3 separate regions of the Homo sapiens genome follow, and all the other regions are linked to region 1. The links are contacts of gene promoters, found by promoter capture Hi-C in human tissues and cell types (Jung and others, 2019). All regions are on one chromosome and are shown on one strand. The core of a region is centred on a gene start or on the middle of the fragment in contact, and the rest is flanking DNA. Distances in the headings are between cores, read along the strand shown.

Region 1 (3,113 bases), core at 199-2,698:
CTGGAATGCGCCTGGTCTGAACTGCGATGTGCTAGAAAGGTAAAATACGAGTTAGTTTCAAAGGTTTAGTTCCATATATATAGACACACTTCATTAATAATTACATATTTCTCACATATTAAAATGACAATATTTTCGATATATTGGGTTAAATTGTTACAATCAATTTCACCTGTTCTTTGTTTCTTTTTAAAAATAGAGCTAAACTCTTTTTAAAGTTTGGCTACAAATTAGCCGGGCATGGTGGCCAGCGCCTTTTATCTCAGCTACTTGGGAGGCTGAGGCAGGAGAATCGCTTGAACCCGGGAGGCAGAGGTTGCAGTGAGCAGAAATCGCGCCATTGCACTCCAGCCCAGGCAACAATGTGAGACTCCGTCTAAAAAAATAAAAATATAAAATAAAGTTTGGCTACTAGAAAATTTAAAATTTACATGTGGCTCACATTTTATGATTTTATTTTATTTATTTATTTTTTTTGAGACAGAGTTTCACTCTTGTTGTCCATACTGGAGTGCAGTGGCGTGATCTCGTCTCACTGCAACCTCCACCGCCCAGGATCAAGCGATTCTCCTGCCCCAGCCTCCCAAGTAGCTGGGATTACAGGCGCCTGCCACCATGCCCAGCTAATTTTTTTGTATTGTTTTAGAGACGGGGTTTCACCATGTTGGCCAGACTGATCTCGAACTCTGAACCTCAGATGATCCACCCTCTTCGGCCTCCCGAAGTACTGGGATTACAGGCGTGAGGTACAGCGCCCAACTTGTGGCTCACATTTTATTTCAGAGAATTGCCTCCTTTTTAAAATCTCAGGCTGCCTGCTCAAAGGACCAGAAGTCAGGAAGGTCACAAAATATAAAATTTTAGAACAGTTGGGCCGGGCGCAGTGGCTCATGCCTGTAATCCCAGCATTTTGGGAGGCCGAGGCGGGAGGATCACCTGAGGTCTGGAGTTTGAGACCAGCCTGACCAACATGGAGAAACCCCGTCTCTACTAAAAATACAAAAAAATTAGCCGGGCATGGTGGCGCATGCCTGTAATCTCAGCTACGCGGGAGGCTGAGGCAGGAGAATCGCTTGAACCCGCGAGGTGGAGGTTGCGATGAGCCAAGATCGCGCCATTGCACTCCAGCCTGGGCAACAAGAGTGAAACTCAATCTCAAAAAAAAAATTTTTTTTAGAACAATTGGGTTATTATATTCTTTTCATTTGTGAATAGCCATATAGCATATTATTTATAAGGGCATATGACCTTATACACAAGATTAAAGGCAAACACCCTCTCGGGTGGGCCTGGCTCAGCTCAGGGAGGAAGCCTTGCCTGAAAAGGCTGCAGCATAGGCTGTCACACTTCATTCAGCCCAGCATCTGATCACATCTTCCGTCCCTCAGGGCCTGAAGGGGCGGGTTTTAACATTATCCAATCAGGGACTCTGAGCTGGGGACAGTTCACTCAGACACGCAGCTGGACCGGACAGGGCGGCTTCCGGGTTTGGCGCGGCCTTTGTCTCTTGCTGCAGCCGGAGCTCCGGTCTCGTCTTCACTGCTGTTTGTCCTCTGCTCCTAGAGGCCCAGACTCTGTGGCTCTGTGACCTGCAGGTATTGGGAGATCCACAGCTAAGACTCCAGGACCCTCTGGAAGCCTAGAAATGGTGAGAGTGCCGTCCGACATCCCGAGAGAGGGGAAGGGCTGGTTGAAACCTGTGGGAAGTGGCTGTGGCGGGACTCAGGACTCCCCGCAGTCATCTCCACAATCTGCGCTCCGAGTTCTCCTTGCCTAGCTCGGCCTCAGTCCCCTTCAGCCATAAGATGGCGGCTGCGCCGACAGCCGGGCCCCCGGGCGTCCTGTCTCTTCCCTGCGCAGTGACTGTGCCCTGGCCTGCAGCCCTCTCTGGGCGGCTCTGCACCGGCAGCGCCGCGCCTCTCCCAGATTGTGCAGGGACCATGGGAGGGTGGTCAGGGGAGAATCCTGACTTGGGGTCGGGTTCATGAATGGGAAGAGCTTTGGTCTGTGGGGTTCCCGGTTCCTATTTTCTCCTATTAAAAATCTGTGGCAGTCATCGCAAAAAATATTAAAGAATTTAATCAAAGAGTGATTCAATAATTGTAGAGCACAAAAGTATGTTTTGTAGTTTGTGGTTCATGGGAGGAGCTTGAAGGAAAGACTTTTTATAAGGTGCATGATGAAGAAAACTATATTTAATAATCGGTTAGGTACATTTACGTAGCTGTTGCTGTTAAGTAGAAAGCCGGGGACTAGAGCCTCCTCAGTGTAATTGCCTGCCACTTAATTATTCTCACACTCCACAGGGGACTGATTTTCCCCTGCATTTTTCACATGCGTTCCAAGCGGGGTCTCAAGTGTACCTCCCAGCCCCATTCCTCCAGCCTAACTCTGGCCTGCAGTTAGATTTAAACTGCAAATAAACTAAAATACTAAATTTCTAGTTCCTTCTGACATTTCCAAATGCCAGCTTGCCTTTCCTAATTCACATTCTCAACTGTTTTTCCTTTAGTGTACATTTTTGATACTGTATTTTAGTTAATCATTTTTTGACAAAGCATTGGATGGCACTTAAAATTGTTTTCTGGTTGAAAATATTTCTCATGAGAAGAAAGCAAAAAATAATTCCCTGACACTGTATTTTATGAAATTTCTATGGCTTTTTTTTTTTTATCTTCCTCAGGCACAGAAATCTTATCAGAATGTTTGTTTTCAGGTGAAGGTTTTTCTTTGGAAACTTTACGGAGTGATGTGTCTTCAGCCACCCTTCAGTTTTTTCCTGGTCCTGGGTTTCAGTACTGTCTGGAGTAAACCAAGATACACATCATGACTTTTTCTGCTAGAGTGTCTAGTGAATATCAGCTCCTGGGTCATTTTTCTCCCTGAGGACAACCTGAGGTATGGAGTGTAGCTTCTCAAGGGAGCAGGTGGATGCCCTGGGGCTGAGAGGCATCTCCTGGCATACTCTTCCTTTGAAAAGCTAACCCCTTGAGACATTAAGATTGTCTTCACCCAACCCAGCTTCCATTTCTTGGAGACACAGTGCTGGTCAGCCAATCAGATGCTGGTATTGAGGGGAAAACACAGAAATAATTTCTGCCCCCTGAATTCTC
Region 2 (3,113 bases), core at 373-2,872, 770 kb after region 1:
CATGTCCACCCTCCTCCCAGGAGTAGGCACCACCCTCAGGACCTTCACCACGGCGTTTTTGATCCTAGTGTTTCTTGCCAAGAACCCACAAGTCTCTACAAGTCTCCTGGCGTATCCCCACCCCCAGACACTAAATCTGCAGCAGCAATCTGTTTTCTCCACCAACCTAGCATTTTGAATCAGCTGTTCATAATCTCATATGTCTGCGTGCACACAGTAATAAATCAGAGTACAGCTGCACCAGGACAACTATCTGTAGCAAAAATCAGTCCTCTCACCTACATTGCAATCTCTCCCACCCAGGGATTTAATTTTTTCTTTTAGCTTTTATTTTTGTTTTGGGGTACACATGAGTTTGTTTTGGTGCATGGGGGTTTTGCGTGCAGATTATTTTGTCACTGAGGTATTAAGCATAGCACCAAACAGGTATGTTTTCTGATTCTCTTAGTCTTCCACCCTCCACCCTCAACTAGGCCGCAGCGTCTGTTGTTCTCCTCTTTGTGTTTGTGTGTTCTTATTATTTAGCTGTTACTTATAAATAAAAACATGCATTTGGTTTTCTGTTTCTACAGTATTTTCTTTTTCTTTCTTTCTTTTTTTTTGGAGACGGAGTTTCACTTTTGTTGCCCAGGCTGGAGTGCAATGGTGTGATCTCGGCTCACCACAACCTCCGTCTCCCAGTTTCAAGTGATTCTCCTGCCTCAGCCTCCTGAGTAGCTGGGATTACAGGCACATGGCACCACACCCAGCTAATTCTGTATTTTTAGTAGAGATGGCTTTTCTCCATGTTGGGCAGGCTGGTCTCGAACTCCTGACCTCAAGTGATCAACCTACATTGGCCTCCCAAAGTGGTGGGATTACAGGCATGAGCCACTGCGCCAGGCCTCTGCATTTGTTTTCTAAGAATGATGGTCTCCAGCTTCATTGACGTTATTGCAAAGGACATGATTTTTTTTTTTAATGGCCACAGAGTATTCCATGAGGTTTATATACCATATTTTATTTTGACTAAATCTTTTATTTCATTTTATTTTTGGAGACAGAGTCTCCCTTATTGCCCAGGCTAGAGTGCCATGGCATGATATTGGTTTACTTTAGCCTCAACCTCCCTGGCTCAAGCAATTTTCTCCTACCTCATGTTCCCAAGTAGCTTGGACTACACGCGGGCATTACCACACCTGGCCAATTTTTTTTTTTTTTTTTTTTTTTTTGAGACGGAGTCTCGCTCTGTCGCCCAGGCCGGACTGCGGACTGCAGTGGCGCAATCTCGGCTCACTGCAAGCTCCGCTTCCCGGGTTCACGCCATTCTCCTGCCTCAGCCTCCCGAGTAGCTGGGACTACAGGCGCCCGCCACCGCGCCCGGCTAATTTTTTGTATTTTTAGTAGAGACGGGGTTTCACCTTGTTAGCCAGGATGGTCTCGATCTCCTGACCTCATGATCCACCCGCCTCGGCCTCCCAAAGTGCTGGGATTACAGGCGTGAACCACTGCATCTGACCATACCATATTTTCTTTACCCAGTCTACCACTGATAGGTATTTAGGGCCTGTCCTTATCTTTGCTATTGTGAATAGTGCTGCAGTGAACATGCATGTGGATGTGTCTTTATAATATAATAATTTATGTTTCTTTGGGTATATACCCAATTATGAGATCCCTGGGTCAAATGATAATTCTGTTGTTAGTTCTGTGAGGAACCGCCACACTGCTTTTTACAGTTGTTAAACTATTTACACTCCCACCAGCAGAGTATAAGCATTCCGTTTTCTCTGCAACCTTGCCAGCATCTATTATTTTTTGACTTTTTGAAAATAGCCATTCTGACTGGTGTGAAGTGATATCTCGTTGTTGTTTTTCTTTTAATTTCTCTAGTGATTAGTGATGAGCATTTTTTTCAAGTACTTCTTAGCCACATGTGGTTTTTCTTTTAATTTCTCCCGTGATTAGCGATGAGCATTTTTTTCAGGTACTTAGCCACATGTATATTTTCTTTTGAAAAGCAGTGTTCATCTTTTTTGCCTACTTTTTAATGAGGTCGTTTGGTTTTGTCTTTTAAACTTGTTTAAGTTTCTAATAAATTCTGGATATTAGACCTTTGTCAGAGGCAAAGTTTGCAAAAATTTTCTTTTATTCTGTAGGTTGTCTTTTTCCTCTGTTGATAGTTTCCTTTGCTGTGAAGAAGCGCTTTAGTTTAAATAGGTCCCATTTGTCAATTTTTGCTTCTGTTGCAGTTGCTTTTGGTAGCTTCCTCATGAATTCTTTGCCAGTTTCTGTGTCTAGAATGGTATTTCCTAGGTTTTCATGCAGTGTTTCTTATAATTTTAAGCTTACATTTAAGTGTTTATCTTCAGTTGATTTTTGTATATGCTGTAATGAAGTGAGCTAGTTTCAGTCTTCTACATAGTGCTAGGTAGTTATTCCAGCACCATTTATTAAAGAGAGAATTCTTCCCACATTTCCCTTGTCAGCTTTGTCAAAAATCTGATGGTTATAGGAGGGTGGCATTATTTCTGGGCTCTCTATTCTGTTGCATTGGTCTTCAGCCTGAGTCTCTCTAGCCTGGCTTATCATTGGGCCATCAGCCCAGGGTCACTGGAAATTCCCTCACAATCACCTGGGTGTCTTTGAGGCATTTGAGGATGTTCAGAGCAGAATTGTGTTAGGCTGATAAGAGTGGTTAATTCTGCTTCTGTCTCAGTGTAAGGGAAATGAGTCATCCTGTGTTTTTTCATCCCCTCATACAAGAGGTGTCTTTGGTTGGTACCCAGATGAGAGTTTCTCCAGTTTCCTAGTACTTGGATGGTAAAGAAGGAAAAGATCTGGAGACCCAAATGGATAAACTAGTTGCTTCCATTTTATATGGCCATTAAAAAAAAACTATGCAGCAGTCTTTTTTCCTACAATCCAGAAGCTTTTAGTCTAGACTAGCAACTGGATAAATAATTGAATTGTGCATCATATGGTTGGTGCAATACATAGATGTGTCCAACACCTTGGGCTTTATTTAGGCCACTTTCTTTATATTTTTGAGACTTCTGATGTCTACATCTGAAGGCATATTTATGAACAGAAGAATTGTTATTATAGGTTCTTTTTTTTTTTTGAGACGGAGT
Region 3 (3,113 bases), core at 444-2,943, 670 kb after region 1:
GCAGACAAGATTAAACAAAAATGAATAAAAAGGAACAAATGAAGCCTTTGAGAAATATGTTCTGTGCAGGAAACACATGAGGGGAGAAGAAAAGACACGCACACAATACCTTTAAGGGTAAACAAGCTTTATCCCAGGTAAATGGCAATGCATATATAATAAGCAAATTGATATAATAAGAGCATTGCAATGGGAAGGGGAGAAGAGAAAAAATATATATCTTTACACTCACCAGACTATGGAGGATTCATCAGCAGACCAGGAAGCAACAGCCTGGGCTCCAGAGTCGGCCACCCATCCCTGTACAGACAAGGAGAGGTCTTTGGAGCTTTGGTGCAGTCTGGGATCCTAGCTCTTTTTGTAACAAGTTGTTTGGCATGAGGCCCAGTTGCAACTGGGCTCTTTGCAACTGGGCTCAAGGAACACAAAAAAGTCAACTTGTTTTTTTTGCGATTGGCTATTGTTTTTCAATAACTAACGTATAGGAATAGATTAAAATAGAGATTTCTCCAAAACAATCTGTGCCCAGTTCTCTTTGCCCAGCTTGGCCTCAGTCCCATTCAGCCAGAAGATGGCAGCTGCGCTGACAGCCAGGCCCCCAGAAGTCCTGCCTCTTCACTGCGCTGTGACTGTGCCCTGGCCTGGAGCCCACTTTGGGCAGCTCTGCACCTGCAGCATGGCGTCTCTCCCAGATTGTGCAGGGACCAGGGGAAGGTCGGCAGGTGAATGCCTCAAGGGGCTCACATAACCTGTTCCAGGACTTGGTGACCATTGTTTGTGTCCATGTTCAACTGAGTTCAAATTTAATATTTAACTTTTCCTCCACAAATTCCCCTGTCTTGATGAATCATCTCTGTCTAGGCAAGATGAAGCCCTTAGGCCGTTACACAACCTCCGCCTCCTGGGTTCAAGCGATTCCCCTGCTTCAGCCGCCGTAGCACCTGGGACTACAGGTGTGTACCACCACACCTGGCTAATTTTTTGTGTTTTTACTAGAGATGAGATTCAACATGTTGGCCAGGCTGGTCTTGAACTCCTGACCTGAAGTGATCCACCCACTTTGGCCTCCCAAAGTGCTTGGATTACAAGCGTGCACCAGCGGACTGGCCCTAAATGATTTCTTTGTCTCTTGTAACAGTTTGAAATTACTTAAAGGTTGTTTCAAATTGAAAAAATAAAAAGAATGTAGATAAAAATAAAATATAAAAAGTTAAAAAATTACATTAGATTACAAAATATGTATGTAAATCTCGAGAGGTCAAAAATGACAAATTTGATTTTTTATAAGGTTTTATCAAAATTACCTTTAGTATTGATAATACATTATTGCCAAAGTAAAAGTTGATTTTCTCTTGAACAAAAATTTTATGTATTATTAATATGAGAGCAAAATACTTCTGTTCACCTTTTGAATACATTCAAAAAGAGAGAGAGTAAAGAAAAGATAGAATTCTCCCATGCTCTGGGGTGGGCCTGGCTCAGCTCAGGAAGGAAGCCCTGCCTGAAAAGGCTGCAGCTTAGGCTGTCACTCTTTCTTCACTCAGCTCAGCGTCTGATCACATCTACTGTCACTCAGGGCCTCAGGGGGCGGGGCCTTAAGCATTATCCAATCAGGGATGGTGGGCTGGAAACCATCCAATCAGGAACGCAGCTGGAGCGAAGAGGACGGTTTCCGGGTTTGGTGCGGCCTTTGTCTCTCGCTGCAGTCAGAGCTCCAGGTCTGGTTCTTCTCCTAAAGGCCCAGGCTGTGTGGCCCCGTGTCCTGCAGGTATTGGGAGATCCACAGCTAAGACACCGGGACCTCCTGGAAGCCAAAAATGGTGAGAGTGAGGGTCCGACATCCCGAGAGAGGAGAGGGACTGGTTGGAACCGGTGAAAAGTGGCTGTGGCGGGACTCAGGCCTCCCCGCAGTCAGCTCCACAGTCTGCTCCCCCAGTTCTCCTTGCTCAGCTCGGCCTCAGTCCTGTTCAGCCATAAAATGGCAGCTGCGCTGACAGCCGGCACCCGGGCGTCTTGTCTCTTCACTGCGCGGTGACTACCCTGGCCTGGAGCCCTCTCTGGGCAGCTCTGCACCCGCAGCGTGGCGTCTCTCCCAGATTGTGCAGGGACCAGGGGAGGGTGGGCAGGGGAGAATCCTGACTCGGGGTGCGGGTTCATGAATGGGAAGAGCTTTGTTCCTTTGGGTTTACAGTTTCTCTTTTCTCCTATTAAAAATGTATGGGGCCGGACGCTGTGGCTCACGCCTGTAATCCCAACGTTTTGGGAGGCCGAGGCGGGCGGATCACTTGAGGTAAAGAGGTGTTAGGACAACTAAGTTCCTTTTAAATGACTCAACTTTCTGGTCATAAGTTGTAAAAGTTGTAAATCAACCCTACCTCTTCTTCTACCCCCTTTTCCTTTTCTCGCAAATCGCGCATTTACTTTATTTGGAAAAAGTTTGGGTCTAAGCTTACCAGGATCAGCTTAGATTGTGCGGTCTGATCCCAGCCAATAGGGGATGGAAACAAAAACAGGAACTGCATTAGGGTTCAAAACCCCTTTCTTGCTGGGCGCGGTGGCTCAAGCCTGTAATCCCAGCACTTCGGAGGCCGAGGCAGGTGGATCACGTGGTCAGGAGTTCTAGACCAGCCTGGCCAACGTGGTGAAACCCGTCTCTACTAAAAATACGAAAACTATCGGCGTGTTGGCACGTGCCTGTAGTACCAGCCACTTGGGAGGCTGAGGCACGAGAATTGCTTGAACCCGGGAGGCGGAAGTTGCAGTGAGCTGAGATCCAATCATCGCGCTCCAGCCTGCGTGACAAAGCGAGACTCCGGCTCAAAAAAAAGAAAAAAAAAGTAAGCATCTTAAAAATTCCTTTATGTAAACATTGTGAGTAATTTCACTGGAGTTTCTAACACTTAGTTTCAAAAACCAAGTGAATAACTGATGTGGACATTAAAGCTTGAACCTAGTGACTCCAAGCTAAGGCTAATATTAAGCCTGCAACAGGGTATTTTTTTTTTTTTTTTTTTTTTTTTAGACACAGTGTCGCTTGTGGTGCCCAGGCTGGAATGTAATGGCGTGATCTCGGCTTACTGGGTTCAAGCGATTCTCCTACCTCAGCCCCACCA

Evidence for each region. The method cuts DNA at HindIII sites, captures the fragments that hold promoters and counts their contacts. A contact is called where the count stands out against the background at its distance.
Region 2: a contact is called between a fragment that was not itself captured here and the fragment with the promoter of ZNF708 in region 1, in 2 of the 25 tissues and cell types used here (aorta and dorsolateral prefrontal cortex).
Region 3: the fragment with the promoter of ZNF626 here is called in contact with the fragment with the promoter of ZNF708 in region 1 in 1 of the 25 tissues and cell types used here (mesendoderm cells).

What each region holds. Positions count from the first base shown.
Region 1 is chr19:21,327,745-21,330,857 of GRCh38, reverse strand. ZNF708 (zinc finger protein 708) reads left to right here and starts at 1,448. Exons shown (of 4, transcript NM_021269.3): 1 at 1,448-1,648. The coding sequence starts at 1,646. RefSeq lists a silencer at 1,135-1,356 and enhancers at 603-1,591, 1,476-1,655, 1,696-1,895, 2,984-3,113. The HindIII fragment of the contact is 12,621 bases long and covers 1-3,113 here.
Region 2 is chr19:20,558,271-20,561,383 of GRCh38, reverse strand. The region is part of intron 1 of ZNF737 (zinc finger protein 737); the gene reads left to right. The region is part of intron 2 of LOC105372316 (a long non-coding RNA gene); the gene reads right to left. Among named protein-coding and RNA genes, the nearest start is that of ZNF737, 6.0 kb to the left of the region's middle. The HindIII fragment of the contact is 6,645 bases long and covers 1-3,113 here.
Region 3 is chr19:20,660,151-20,663,263 of GRCh38, reverse strand. ZNF626 (zinc finger protein 626) reads left to right here and starts at 1,693. Exons shown (of 4, transcript NM_001076675.3): 1 at 1,693-1,820. The coding sequence starts at 1,818. RefSeq lists a silencer at 1,499-1,568. The HindIII fragment of the contact is 1,409 bases long and covers 1,288-2,696 here.